2 separate regions of the Homo sapiens genome follow, and region 2 is linked to region 1. Evidence: promoter capture Hi-C in human tissues and cell types (Jung and others, 2019). All regions are on one chromosome and are shown on one strand. Each heading gives the region's core, a stretch centred on a gene start or on the middle of the fragment in contact. The rest is flanking DNA. Distances are from core to core; before and after follow the strand shown. Region 1 holds the start of DNAH9 (dynein axonemal heavy chain 9). Region 2 overlaps SHISA6 (shisa family member 6).

Region 1 (5,863 bases), core at 1,839-4,338:
ATTTTTAAAATAAGTTATTTATTTAGGTTTTAAAATAGGTAATACATTTACATGGGGCAAAAATTTAAACGTACAAAAGCTTTTACAGTGGGAAGTAAATCTTCCACCTACCCCTGTACTTCAGTTACTGTTTCTCCTTCTTGTGGATTACTGTTAAAGAATGTCCTCTCTTCCTCCCTCCCTCTCTCCCTCCCACCCTCCCTTCCCTCCTTCCTTTCTCTCTTCTTCCCCTCCTTTCTTTTTTAAACATAAATAGTAGCATACCATCCATGCAATTCTGCACTTCTTTAAAAAATTATCTTAAATTGCAGCATTATTCACAAAAACCAAGAGACAGAAACATCCTAAGTGTCTATGATGGATAAATTTTTTAGAAATGTGGTATATACATACAATAGAATATTGTTAAAAAAAGAAAGAAATCCCGCATATGACGATAGGCGGTGACGATATGGATGAACCTTGAGGACATTATGCTAAGTGACATAAGTCAGTCAGAAGGAACAAATACTGCATGATTCCACTTATATGATGAGTCAGGTTCATAGGAACAGAAAGTAGAATGGTGCTAGCCAGGAGCTCAGGGGAGCGATGTGTGGCTTGCTGGGTGTGTGTGGAGTTTCAGTGATGCTGGACGGGGCAGTTCTGAGGATGTGTTGCACAATAATGCATATGTGGTTGACAATATTGTACTCTACACTTGGAAATTGTTGGGTGAATTTTACGTCATGTGTTTTTTTTGCCACAAGGAAAAAATTACCCTAAGGAATAACTCCGGTTGGACATGGTGGCTCACACCTGTAATCCCAGCACTTTGGGAGGCCAAGGCAGGAGGATCACTTGAGTCTAGGAGTTTGAAACCAGCCTGGTCAACATAGCAAGACCCTGCCTCAAAAAAAGGAATATTCCATATCAGTCATTCTTTTTAATAGTTGCAAAGTATTTCACTGTATAGATGGCCCATAATTCAGTCACCCAGTCCCCTGTTGATGAACATTGTTTGTCTCCAATCTCTTTCAATGCACCAATGAAAATTCTTAAACATTCGAGAATTTTCATTATTTTAAAATTATTTTTCTTGCTGGACTACTTTGCTTGGCCATGACACAACTCTGAGATGGGCCTTCTGTCTCCCACATACACTAGGTTAAATCCTGTCTCTGAACCTTTGATCAGTCTGCTCTCAGTATCTTGAAAGTTACCTTGCTCTCTACTTATACAAATTCTTCTAATTGTTCAGGAGACAATTCAACACTTATGTTAAGCATGCTTCTCAGATCACAGGCCTGTCTTTCTCCTCTGAAGCCAAAAGTACTTTCTATCGTCAACATTCATTAGAGAAGCTGATCTAAGTTCAGGCTTCAGCGGGATGGCTTTCAGACAATGCACAGTTGCAAGACCATTCTGTTTGTTAAAATATTGAAATACCTCCATATCTAAGAGATCTAGCTTCCTGGGCCCTCTGTGTCCTCCTCTATCTATCCAACCCTTTCCCTGGAATTTTCACCTCCCCACAGCCTCCTGATACACCATCTAAAGGGCTTACACTTGACATAGCAGGGAGACTCCAGGACTTGCATCCAGCAGTGGGGCCAACTTTTAGGTAAGCTTTACCCTCACCCCAGTCTTAAAAGTTTGAAACATTTTGAATATATGAATTATTACATACGTTTCAGCTCCTTGGAGTAAGCATTTCATGGGTGGGAATAGTTCTTTGGTATTCCCTATAGCACCTATCACCTGAACCATCATACAGCCAGTATTCTGCCCATCCTTATTTCACAACCTGCAGGGTCCAGGGCATCAAGCCTCCATAAGCACACAGCCTGACTTGCAGGGCAGTTTACTCCCATTCCAGAAAGGTCTAAGGGGCCCAGGAATCTCTCTGGAGCACTTCCCTGAAATCTCCTGCATTCTCGAAGCTTCTGCTGTGGTGCCACTAAAGCACTCATGACCCACATCTCCACCTTCCTCCCTGAGCTTCAGGCAGACTCCTCCAAAGGCCTGCTGGGCATTTCCAAATGGGAGCCCAACTTCTTATGCTGGCACAGGGCTGACCTTTGCTAAATGGTTGGTAATGAATGAATGAGATGAAAATCAAAAGCAAATCACTACCCACCTCCCCCTCCCATTTAACTGCTCTCCAGAAGTAGGCACTGTTTATAGCCATCCACCTCCTTCCACCCCACTGATCCATCAGAAATGCCGTCTTGTCCACTTCCCATCTTCTTCAGATCTTTCCAATTTACAGGAGGGATTACGAGAGGCTGATTTTGAAAGTAGTCAGAACCTAGGCACTCTTCAGATTATGGTCTTCCCCTGACTTTGGCTGGAACCCAGACCCGGACTGACCCAAGCCTCAGCTCCTTCCCATTCTCATTCTGGCCTGGCCTCCACCCAGATCCCTCCCTCCGGACCCACCCGACTCCGCCCCTAACCCCATCCCATTTTCTTCCTGACTTCAGGAACTTCCCTCCTGGTTGTGCTCCCTCCACAGCCTCGCCCCTCTGCCTATCACTCCGCCTCTTGGACCTCCCCTGCAGCTTCGCCCCGCCCCCTCTGGCCCCGCCTCCGTCCCTTAAGGCTCCTCCTCCCCTCCCCCACCCAGCTTTAGCCGCGCGGGGACACTAACCCACCCTCACCTCCGAGAACAGCGCGGCTAGGTGCTCCAGAGGTGCCGCGGGCAGGTCCCCGCAGACCACTGCGCCGCGGAAGCTGTCGGGCCCTGGAGGCTCGGGCCCGGTGCGAAGGAAAAAAAGCGCCTTAGCGCCAGCCAGGCCCGACTCAGGTCCCACCTCCAGCCCGGGGCGTATTGCCAGGCCCCTGGGCCCGGGCCGCACCACCAGCAGCGGCCGCGGCCCCTCGGCAGCATCGCGGCCCAGGAAGGCCTGGAGCAGCTGCTCCGCCTCAGCACTCCCCGCGCAACGCTCCCAGGCGCCCGCAGCCGGCCGCAGGCTCATGGCCACGTAGGTCCCCAGGAGTCGCAGTCGTCGGTCGGCGCCGGGTTCCCCATCCGCGTTCTCCGCCGCGAGCGCGGCCCGCTCCTCCGCGAGCCGCATCGCGCGCGGCCTCCAGCTGCATCGGTTTCCCTAGCGACGGGGACGCGGCCAGGACTCACTCCTCTGCTCCCTTCCTATTGGGCACGGACCCCTGGTCCCGCCCCTTCCAGGCTAATAAGGTAGGAGGTGTACGCGGGAAGGGGCGGGGTCGCGTCGCTGTTGCTAGGACACCAGCCGAGACTCGTACTCAGTGTCTGCCTGGTGTATTGGGAGTGCTGAAGTGTGACCGTGGAGCGCAATGGCTTATTGATGGGCTGCGTGGAGAGGAGATCAAGCATATAAATGCTGTTAAGGATCGTTTTGGCCAAGGTCGAATTAGAGTCTTTAGAGGTCTCCAGACACTGAAAATAGTGTGGTCCTCTTACCTCTATCCTAAATGTGCAATCCAGACTTAAACACAATGCCAAATCATAAAACAGATTTAAGGACATTCAGTGAATTTTATTTCTTTTCCATGATGGCAAATTAAACACTTCAGAACAGTGCTGTCCAGTAGAACTTTCTGCGATGATGGAAATGTTTTCCATCTGTTCTAGCCACGCATGGCCTATAAAGGAGGTGAAATATGCTCGTCCCACTGAGGAAATTTTTAATTTTACTTAATTTTCACTTAAAATTAAATAGTCACATGTGACTGTAGTTATATCGAACAGCTCAGCTTCAAAATTTTAATATCAAGTTTTTTTAAGTTTTCTTCCGTGCCTTTCTTTGCCCATGTTTTTTAAGGCATGTGCTTAATCTTCTAAAAATGTAACCAAACTGTAAGAGGCTTGTTTTTGAGACAGAGTCTTACTCTGTTGCCCAGACTGGAGTGCAGTGGCCGGATCATAGTTCACCGCAGCCTCAAATCCCTGGGCTCAACTGATCCTCTGGTCTCAGATTCCCTAGGAGCTGGGAATACAGGCGCCACCACATCCAGCTAATTTTAAAAATTTTTTGTAGAGATGAGGTCTCGCTGTGTTGTCCAAACTGGTCTTGAAGTCCTGGACTCAACTGATCCTTCTGCCTCAGCCTCCCAAAGTGCTGGGATTATAAGGATGAGCCACCATGCTAGAGTTTTTGACTTCCATGGGTATGACCACTAATCAGTTCTTACTAAATGTAGCAAAGTACTTGTAAATATGCAGGATGCTCAGAACCTTCCCATCCTGCCCTATACCTGGATATTGGCTTCAAAAAGGGATAATATAAAGTGCCTTGCCTGACCTCAGAAATTAGCATTTGTTACCTGCTTAGTCCTTCTCCATGGTCAGGATAAACAGCTTGGCCCTTTGCATGCATGTAAGGTGACAGTGCATGGGTGCTGAAAAAATGGACAAACAACTTGGGCAGCATGAGGTCTGCAGGACTGAATGAGCTCCCCTCTGCCCTGCCATCCTCCCTTTAGTCACCTCCCAGGGACTGCTGAGTTTCTGGGTAAAAGGAATGTTTATAATGGGTTTCAAAGGAATATTAACAGAATAAGCACTTATCAATGGTAGCTTGGCTAACAAGAGCCCCTCGGGAAAACACCAGTGGTTGGGAAGTAAAATGATTGATTTCATAATAACTGGAGCAAAGGAGTTGCTGTAATAAAAAATGTTCATGTTAGAAATGAATCTTTATGTTTGTAAAGGGTGTTTCATCATTGCTGGATTAAACAATAATCAACCAACTATGAGGAAAGGGAAAAAGTGGGAAACTAAAACAATCTTTAGGATGAATTTGGTAACTGACATTTCAAGAAGAAGCATCAGGGAAAAATAGTAATGTCAGGGGCTTCTTACACATATCGTTTTTTGTTTATCTTTGCACATAGGAAGGCATCGTTATTGTTTTAGTGCTTAGGGACTTCAAATGTGTCAACTATGCTCATGTTTCGTATACAGAGTGACTTCAGGACCATTAACTTTCAGTAAACCCTTGAAATAAAATTTCTGCCACCGCACTGTGGCTCTATTATGCCGTTAATCTCCTATGTCCCCTTGCCCCAACATACATAAAAATAGGAACAAAGGAGTCTGTGAATATGACTTAAAGATTTCTGTGTAAGGTGAAGGCTCCTGAATATTAGCAATCCCAGTTTTTAATTTTCTCTCCAAAAAGATACCTTATCTGCATTTTAGAAGGTGATTGGTGGGAGGCATTGATATGGGATTATTGAAAACAACTGACATTTTAAAATATTGTATAATTATGACAAAAATATCCCCAAAATATATTAGTTATCTATCACTGTATAACAAATTACCCCCAAACTTATCAGCTTAAAATAGCAATAGACATTTATCTCACACAGTTTATGGGGGGGTCAGGAATTTAGGAGCTGCTTAGCTCGTAGTTATTGCACAAGGTTTCTCATGATGTTGCAGGCAAGATGTCATCAGGGGCTACATCATCTGAAGGCTTGACTGGGGCTGGAGGAGACACTTCCAAGATGGCTTACTCACATGGCTAGTTGGTTAGTGCTGGCTCTTGGCAGTAGACTTCAACTTCTTAGCATGTGGAGCCCCCATTGGGTATCTGAGTGTCTTTGTAATGCTGTGACTGTCTTCCCCCGGAAGAAGTGATCTAAGAGAGAGCAAGGCAGAAGCCTACAGTGTCTCTTATGACTAGCCTTGGAAATCACACACTGTCATTTCTGCAATTATCTTATTAGTTACAGAAGTCTTCCCTATTCAATATGAGAGGGAATTACATGAGGATGTGAATACCAGGAGACAAGAATCACTGGGTACCATCTTGGAGGCAGGCTACCACAAAAAGTAAGGGAAAGAATGAATTTGCATAAGATGTTCAGCTAAAATAATTTCCATTTTTTAAAT
Region 2 (6,296 bases), core at 2,544-5,043, 64 kb after region 1:
CCAACGAGTTTTAAACTCTAGTGTACTTAAGAATTACATGAGGAACTGATTAAAAAGATTCTGGGCCTTCGTTCCACCCCATAAATTATGATTTTGGAAGATTCGACACAGGCTCTAGGAATCAGCTTTTTAAAAGCATCTTAGGTGACTGCTGGAAACTGGCCCACACTTTGGGCAATGCTGCAGGTGGAACTTCATTTTCAAGGCTGCCCTATAGTCCAGGCCCATTTCATTTCACTCAACATGCCAGGGACTCACACGGACTGGTTTCCTTCTGCTGTCCCCAAAACCCCTATTCCTCGGTGCTTGCCTTGGGAAGAACATCTTCCACTTTGATTGTTCTTCTCCTTCTCACTTCTCCCAAACTCTTCCAATCCTTGAAGATAAAACTCAGGTAGGTCGGATGTGGTGGCTCACACCTGTAATCCCAGCCCTTTGGGAGGCCGAAGCGGGTGGATCACAAGGTCAGGAGTTGAGACCAGCCTGGCCAACATGGTGAAACCCCGCCTCTACTAAAAATACAAAAATTAGCTGGGCATGGTGGTGGGTGCCTGTAGTCCCAGCTACTTTGGAGGCTGAGGCAGGAGAATTGCTTGAACCCAAGAGGCAGAAGTTGCAGTGAGCCGAGATCATGCCACTGCACCACTCCAGCCTTGGTGACAGAGCCAGACTCCATCTCAAAAACAACAACAATAACAACAACAACAAACTCAGGTTCATCTCCATAAAGCCATACTCAGGTCCTCCAGTGCAAAATGGAGTTCTTTGCTCTTCTGATAATTGGAGAATTTGTCACCACTGTCATTCATTTTTGGTGCTTCATCATATATTGCTTCTTCTCTGTCTCATTCATTCACTCTTTCAAAGTTCATTAAATACTTCTGCATGTAAGGCTCTCTTCCTCAACTATTTATACATTGAATGTTTCTGGAGGTTGAGTTCAATGACAGTGCTTTTGTGTTTACCGTAGCACAATATTTCTTAGGCTCCTTGGAGGTACTTGTGCAGTTTTTTGAATGATTAATAAATAAGTAAATGAATCAACTCTTGAGGTAGCAGAAAATGAACAAGAGGCCATGGTGATAATACTGGATTGCTTATCTGAGCTTCCTTCTTCTTCTTCTCTTCTTCCTAAGGCCCAAAGTGGCAGATATTCTGGGCCTGTAGCCAGGTTTGTGGGTCATAGCATTTCACATATATCTGAGTATGAGCGTGTTGGGGGAAAGAAGGCACCCCTCCTTCCTAATCTCAAATCCAACCCACACTTGGCACTTCGGCTTGAAGATTAGTTATCATTCTAATTCATTCCAACACAGCTCTTTAGATCTTGGTGGCATGAAAAAGTCAATGCACAGAGGCAGGCCTTTGACTCTTGGTGTCAGAAAGTGGGATCCCCCCCGCCGCCACCCAGTAAGACAGGTTGGTTGCTGATGACATTATGAGGTCACTGATTCCTGTGCTTCTGTCCACTCTCTTGCTTTCCCTATTTCTCAGTCTTGTCCCTTTACCCCAGAAGCCCTGACTCAGGGTCCCCTTGGAGCTGAGTAGTGAGTGCTCTTTTTCTTGAGAGCCCAGGTCTGTGTGAACTCCTCTCCAGTGAGCCTGCTCTGCTTCCCTACTTCTGGCAAGGATGTTCATTTTCAATTCTGCTTGAAAAAAAAGTGGCATCACATTGGTTGTCATGCCCACACAGGGAAACAATGTGTCTTCTGCCAGATTCACTTAAAAAGACAAACTTTAGGTCTTCTTGGGAGAGCTGCCTGCCACCTGCTGTGATCCGCGTCTTCAGGACAGCTTTGGCTCGTGTGAGCCTGGAGATGCTGGAGCTGTGTTTGTTCTGCTTGAAGTTATTGTAATTACTACAAAAGACACATTTACCATACCCTGCTCAGCTCCAGGTGACTAATCCTCTTGCTGGTAATAGGGAAAACTCAGGAATATCCTGAGAGCTATTTAAATCATACCCATGGGAAGACAACCTTGAAATGCCCTGGAATTGCTTGGGAGTGGAATCAGGTGTGAGCACCAGATGTGTGATGAGGTGGATATGAGCAAGGGTGGGCTGGGCTTGGCTGCTGACACAGTGCCAAGCGGGCCTGCAGGTGGGCTCCCTATGGAGGCATAAGGCCTATGATATTCCCTCTGAAGTGGGATTGCTGTGAGATTCTTTTGCAAATTTCAGATTCTTTTCACCTCCACCCATGGGCAGGCACCCCATCTTACAATCTGTCAAGCTCCAATCTAGGCACCTGACATAGCTACTTAACATCACAAAACTCAACTCAAGTTGAAATATTGGAATGATAGAATGGTTGCTCTTTTGAGAATGTGCAACCTTTTGGGAAACCCCCAAATATCCCAAATACAAAGTAGATCACCACACCACCTGCATCTACCCAGTAATGCTATGCGTGTACCTGACATACTATCATAGCTCCCCCTGCATCTACCCAGTAATGCTATGAGTGTTCCTGGCATACTATCATAGCTATCCCTGCATCTACCCAGTAATGCTATGAGTGTACCTGACATACTATCATAGCTCCCTTAAGTAGTGAAATTTTCTGTGATCTAGGTCTGTGTTTAACTTTCACATTTGTTCTTCCCATTATAATACCAACTGGAAGAAATTCTGACTCTGGTGCCTGGCCCAAGAATCCACACATATTGCCATCCCTATCAGTGGAGCTTTATTTATCACGTTTGGGAAAAGACTCTGTCTCACTTTCTCTCTCTATATATATCTATCTATCTATCTGTATATATAGATATAAATATCTCTATATATCTATATATGTCTATATGTGTATATATATGTGTACATATGTATATAGATATATACACACACACCACACACACACACACACACACATTGTTTTCCCATCAGCTACTGTTGTTTTGTTGGACATTGTTTGAAGTAATTTGGAAATATCATGCCATTGAACCTCACAACAAGTCTGTGAGCTCATTTACATTTTATAGATGACATTGAGTTGCCCAAGGAGGTCACGCAAAAAATAAGTAGCTGAACCTGAATTCAAATTCACATCTAATAACTCCAAACACGATGCTCTTGATCTCTGCACTATAATGTGGTTTTGCCAGAACGTGCAAATACAGACTCATCTGTTGAGCTGGACAGGGTTTCTAGTGGGATCTAGGTTTGCACACTGGTAATAAATGGCTGATTCTTGGACAAAGGTTCACACTGCTTCTAATCTAGAAATCTGTTCTTACACTCACCCTAAAAACCCCCTAAGGAGTCTGCCTCTGACTCAGCCCGGAGCAATGTAGCTATTCTTTGTCCTTGCATCTCCCTGCTGACAGCATTCTTGTAGCTTCACATTGTAGCCCTTCTTTTCCTTCACCTAAAGGCCATCATCCTATTGGAACATGCAGCCTGGCAGAAACCAGCCACACTGCTGGGGAAGTTGGTTAGACACACAAGACCAGGAGTTGGGCAATGAGTGCTCTTTTTCTGGGAATCTCCATGCATAGCACTGCTTCCAGGTGATGACTCCTGGCCGTATGGACATGGATGAACATGCCAGGGGTCCTCTGCCATCTTATACCTGCTTTCCTGCACCATAGCCTTCTTTTATTTCTATTTTATTTTATTTTTTTTGAGATGGAGTCTCGCTTTGTTGCCAGGCTGGAGTGCAGTGGTGCGCTCTTGGCTCACCCTCACCGCAACCTCTGCCTCCTGGGTTCAAGCAATCCTCCTGCTTCAGCCTCCCGAGTAGCTGGGGTTACAGGTGCCTGCCACCACGCATGGCTAATTTTTGTATTTTTAGTAGAGATGGGGTTTCACCATGTTGGCCAGGATGGTCTCAATCTCTTGACCTCGTGATCCACCCTCCTTGGCCTCCCAAAGTGCTGGGATTACAGCCATGTGCCACCGCTCCTGGCCCGTAGCCTTCCTAGAATAGTCTCAGCACACAACCCCTTATTGATCTTTCCACTGAGTTCCTTTTTTATGCTGTCATCACTTTTCTGAATCTTGTTTCTGTCTCCCTGGAATGTCTTTTCCCACATTACCACTTGTTCAATTTTTATTCATCCTTCAAGGCCCTCTAAAACAACACCTTATCCATGGCAGCTTTCTCCAATTCCTTCAGCTGCAGGTAATCTTTCTTTACTGTGAACTCTCCTCTGCTCTGTCATTTCTTGGGGGTGCTTACCACTTTCTACATTGTGTTATAATTACATATGTACATGCCTTGTGTCTTCTAACACACTAATTTCTTGATGATGGCAGGTGATGAAAAATTCATCTTTTTGCTTCCCAAGGAGTCTAACATAGCCCTTCCACTCAACATGCATCCATTGAGTGGATAAATATGGCCATTATGCCGGGCACTTGGGGAGATATGAAGGCAGATCTGACACAGTGCAACTTGCTCATAGTAGGTGCTCAATTGCTCAATAAATATTTCAAAATGTTAGAATAGGCCGGGCGCAGTGACTCATGCCTGTATAATTCTAGCACTTTGGGAGGCCAAGGTGGGCGGATCACTTGAAGTCAGAAGTTCAAGACCAGCCTGGTCAACATGGTGAAAACCTGTCTCTACTAAAAATACAAAAAAAAAAAAAAAAAAAAGAAAAAAAAGATTAGCAAGGCATGGTGGCAGGCGCCTGTAATCCCAGCTATTTGGGAAGCTGAAGCAGGAGGAGAATCGCTTGAACCCGGGAGAGGAGGTTGTGGTGAGCTGAGATTGCACCATTGCACTCCAGCCAGGGCAACAAGAGTGAAACTCCATCTCAAAAAACAAAAACAAACAAAAAAAAGTTAGAATAAATACTAGTCTGTGTAATTGCAGAGAGTACATAAAATATTTTGAAGATTTTAATAGAGTAAGAATAATGAGGCTGGGCGCGGTGGCTCACGCCTGTAATCCCAGCACTTTGGGAGGCGAGGTAGGTGGATCACGAGGTCAGTAGATCGAGATCATCCTGGCTAACACAGTGAAACCCCGTCTCTACTAAAAATACAAAAAATTAGCCAGGCATGGTGGCAGGTGCCTGTAGTCCCAGCTACTTGGGAGGCTGAGGCAGGAGAATGGCGTGAACCCGGGAGGCAGAGCTGGCAGTCAGCCGAGATGGTGCCAGTGCACTCCAGGCTGGGAGACAGAGCGAGACTCCATCTCAAAAAAAAAAAAAAAAAAAAAAATAATGAAAGGGAAGCTTCAAAAAGAAAGTAAATCTTGAATGCAGCTATAAAGGAGACTTGATTTTGGACGGTGGGGAGAGAGGCCAGGGGAGGTGACTTCTTTCACAGAAAGAAAGGCCAAGAATAAAACGTGAGAGAATGGGGCCTGAGTCATAGAGGGTTGGTAGGAGTGCAGATGAGAGACGGTAGAATGAGGTTAGATTATGGCACTTTAACGCCAAATTGACTTTGACTTTATCCTGAAAGGCTGTTGACGGCATGGCAAGGGTCTTGTTTTCTAAGAATTAACCAGTAGGAAGAATTGGAGTGAAGAAGGGAAATGCGTTGACAAGCTACTATAGAAATGCAAGTGGGAGGTAACGGCAGCTGAATCAGCTCTGAGGTCTCCATAACTTATGGTGTTTGTGGCTAATGAGCAAAGGGCCAGGTAGAAGAAGCAAAGAGGGCTGATAATGAAGATTTGATTCCATTTCTTTTCATCAGAGGACTCATTCCTGCTGGTTGTTGGATACAGCATTTGTCTGAGGCATTTGGGCAGATTTCATAGCTAACAGGCACAGCTCAGCAGCAAAGGCAACACAACCCAAAGTGGCTGTTTACACTCACGCAGTCTGCCAGATCCCTGAGAAGTTCTCTGGGAGTGGAAAGGGAGGAAACTGGATGTGGTGTCTTGCACCAACACGCCTATTTCCAGGTAACCATATGCCCAGTGGAAAGGATGTGGAGCTCCCTTTGCTAATCCTCAGGGAGACCCTGGAGATCACTGTGTGCTGAGAGGTGGAATATGTGTCATGAGGAAGCCTGCAGGAGCTGGAATGAAATGAAAAAAAAAAAAAAAAAAAAAAAAAGCCCTGATAGAATGGGGAAAGGCATGGGCTCCTGCTTTGGGAGGCTTGGGCCTTAGACTGCATTCAATTCAGAACTCTAATTCCAAGACTATAGCAAAATCCCTGTCTGTAGCTAACTTGATCTGAGAATTGTGTATGCTTAAACTGAAACGCTCACTGGAGGGGAGGATGTGGGATCATAGGAAAATGTTCCAAAAAAGGAATCTGGGGGAAAGGCATTTACACACATACGCGCGTGCGCGCACACACACACACGCGCGCGCACAGCCTATTTTGCT

The links. The method cuts DNA at HindIII sites, captures the fragments that hold promoters and counts their contacts. A contact is called where the count stands out against the background at its distance.
Region 2: a fragment that was not itself captured here is called in contact with the fragment with the promoter of DNAH9 in region 1 in 1 of the 25 tissues and cell types used here (heart left ventricle).

What each region holds. Positions count from the first base shown.
Region 1 is chr17:11,595,695-11,601,557 of GRCh38, reverse strand. DNAH9 (dynein axonemal heavy chain 9) reads right to left here and starts at 3,088. Exons shown (of 69, transcript NM_001372.4): 1 at 2,643-3,088. The coding sequence starts at 3,059. The HindIII fragment of the contact is 9,113 bases long and covers 1,766-5,863 here.
Region 2 is chr17:11,532,462-11,538,757 of GRCh38, reverse strand. All of the region lies in intron 3 of SHISA6 (shisa family member 6), which reads right to left. Among named protein-coding and RNA genes, the nearest start is that of DNAH9, 63 kb to the left of the region's middle. The HindIII fragment of the contact is 4,604 bases long and covers 1,492-6,095 here.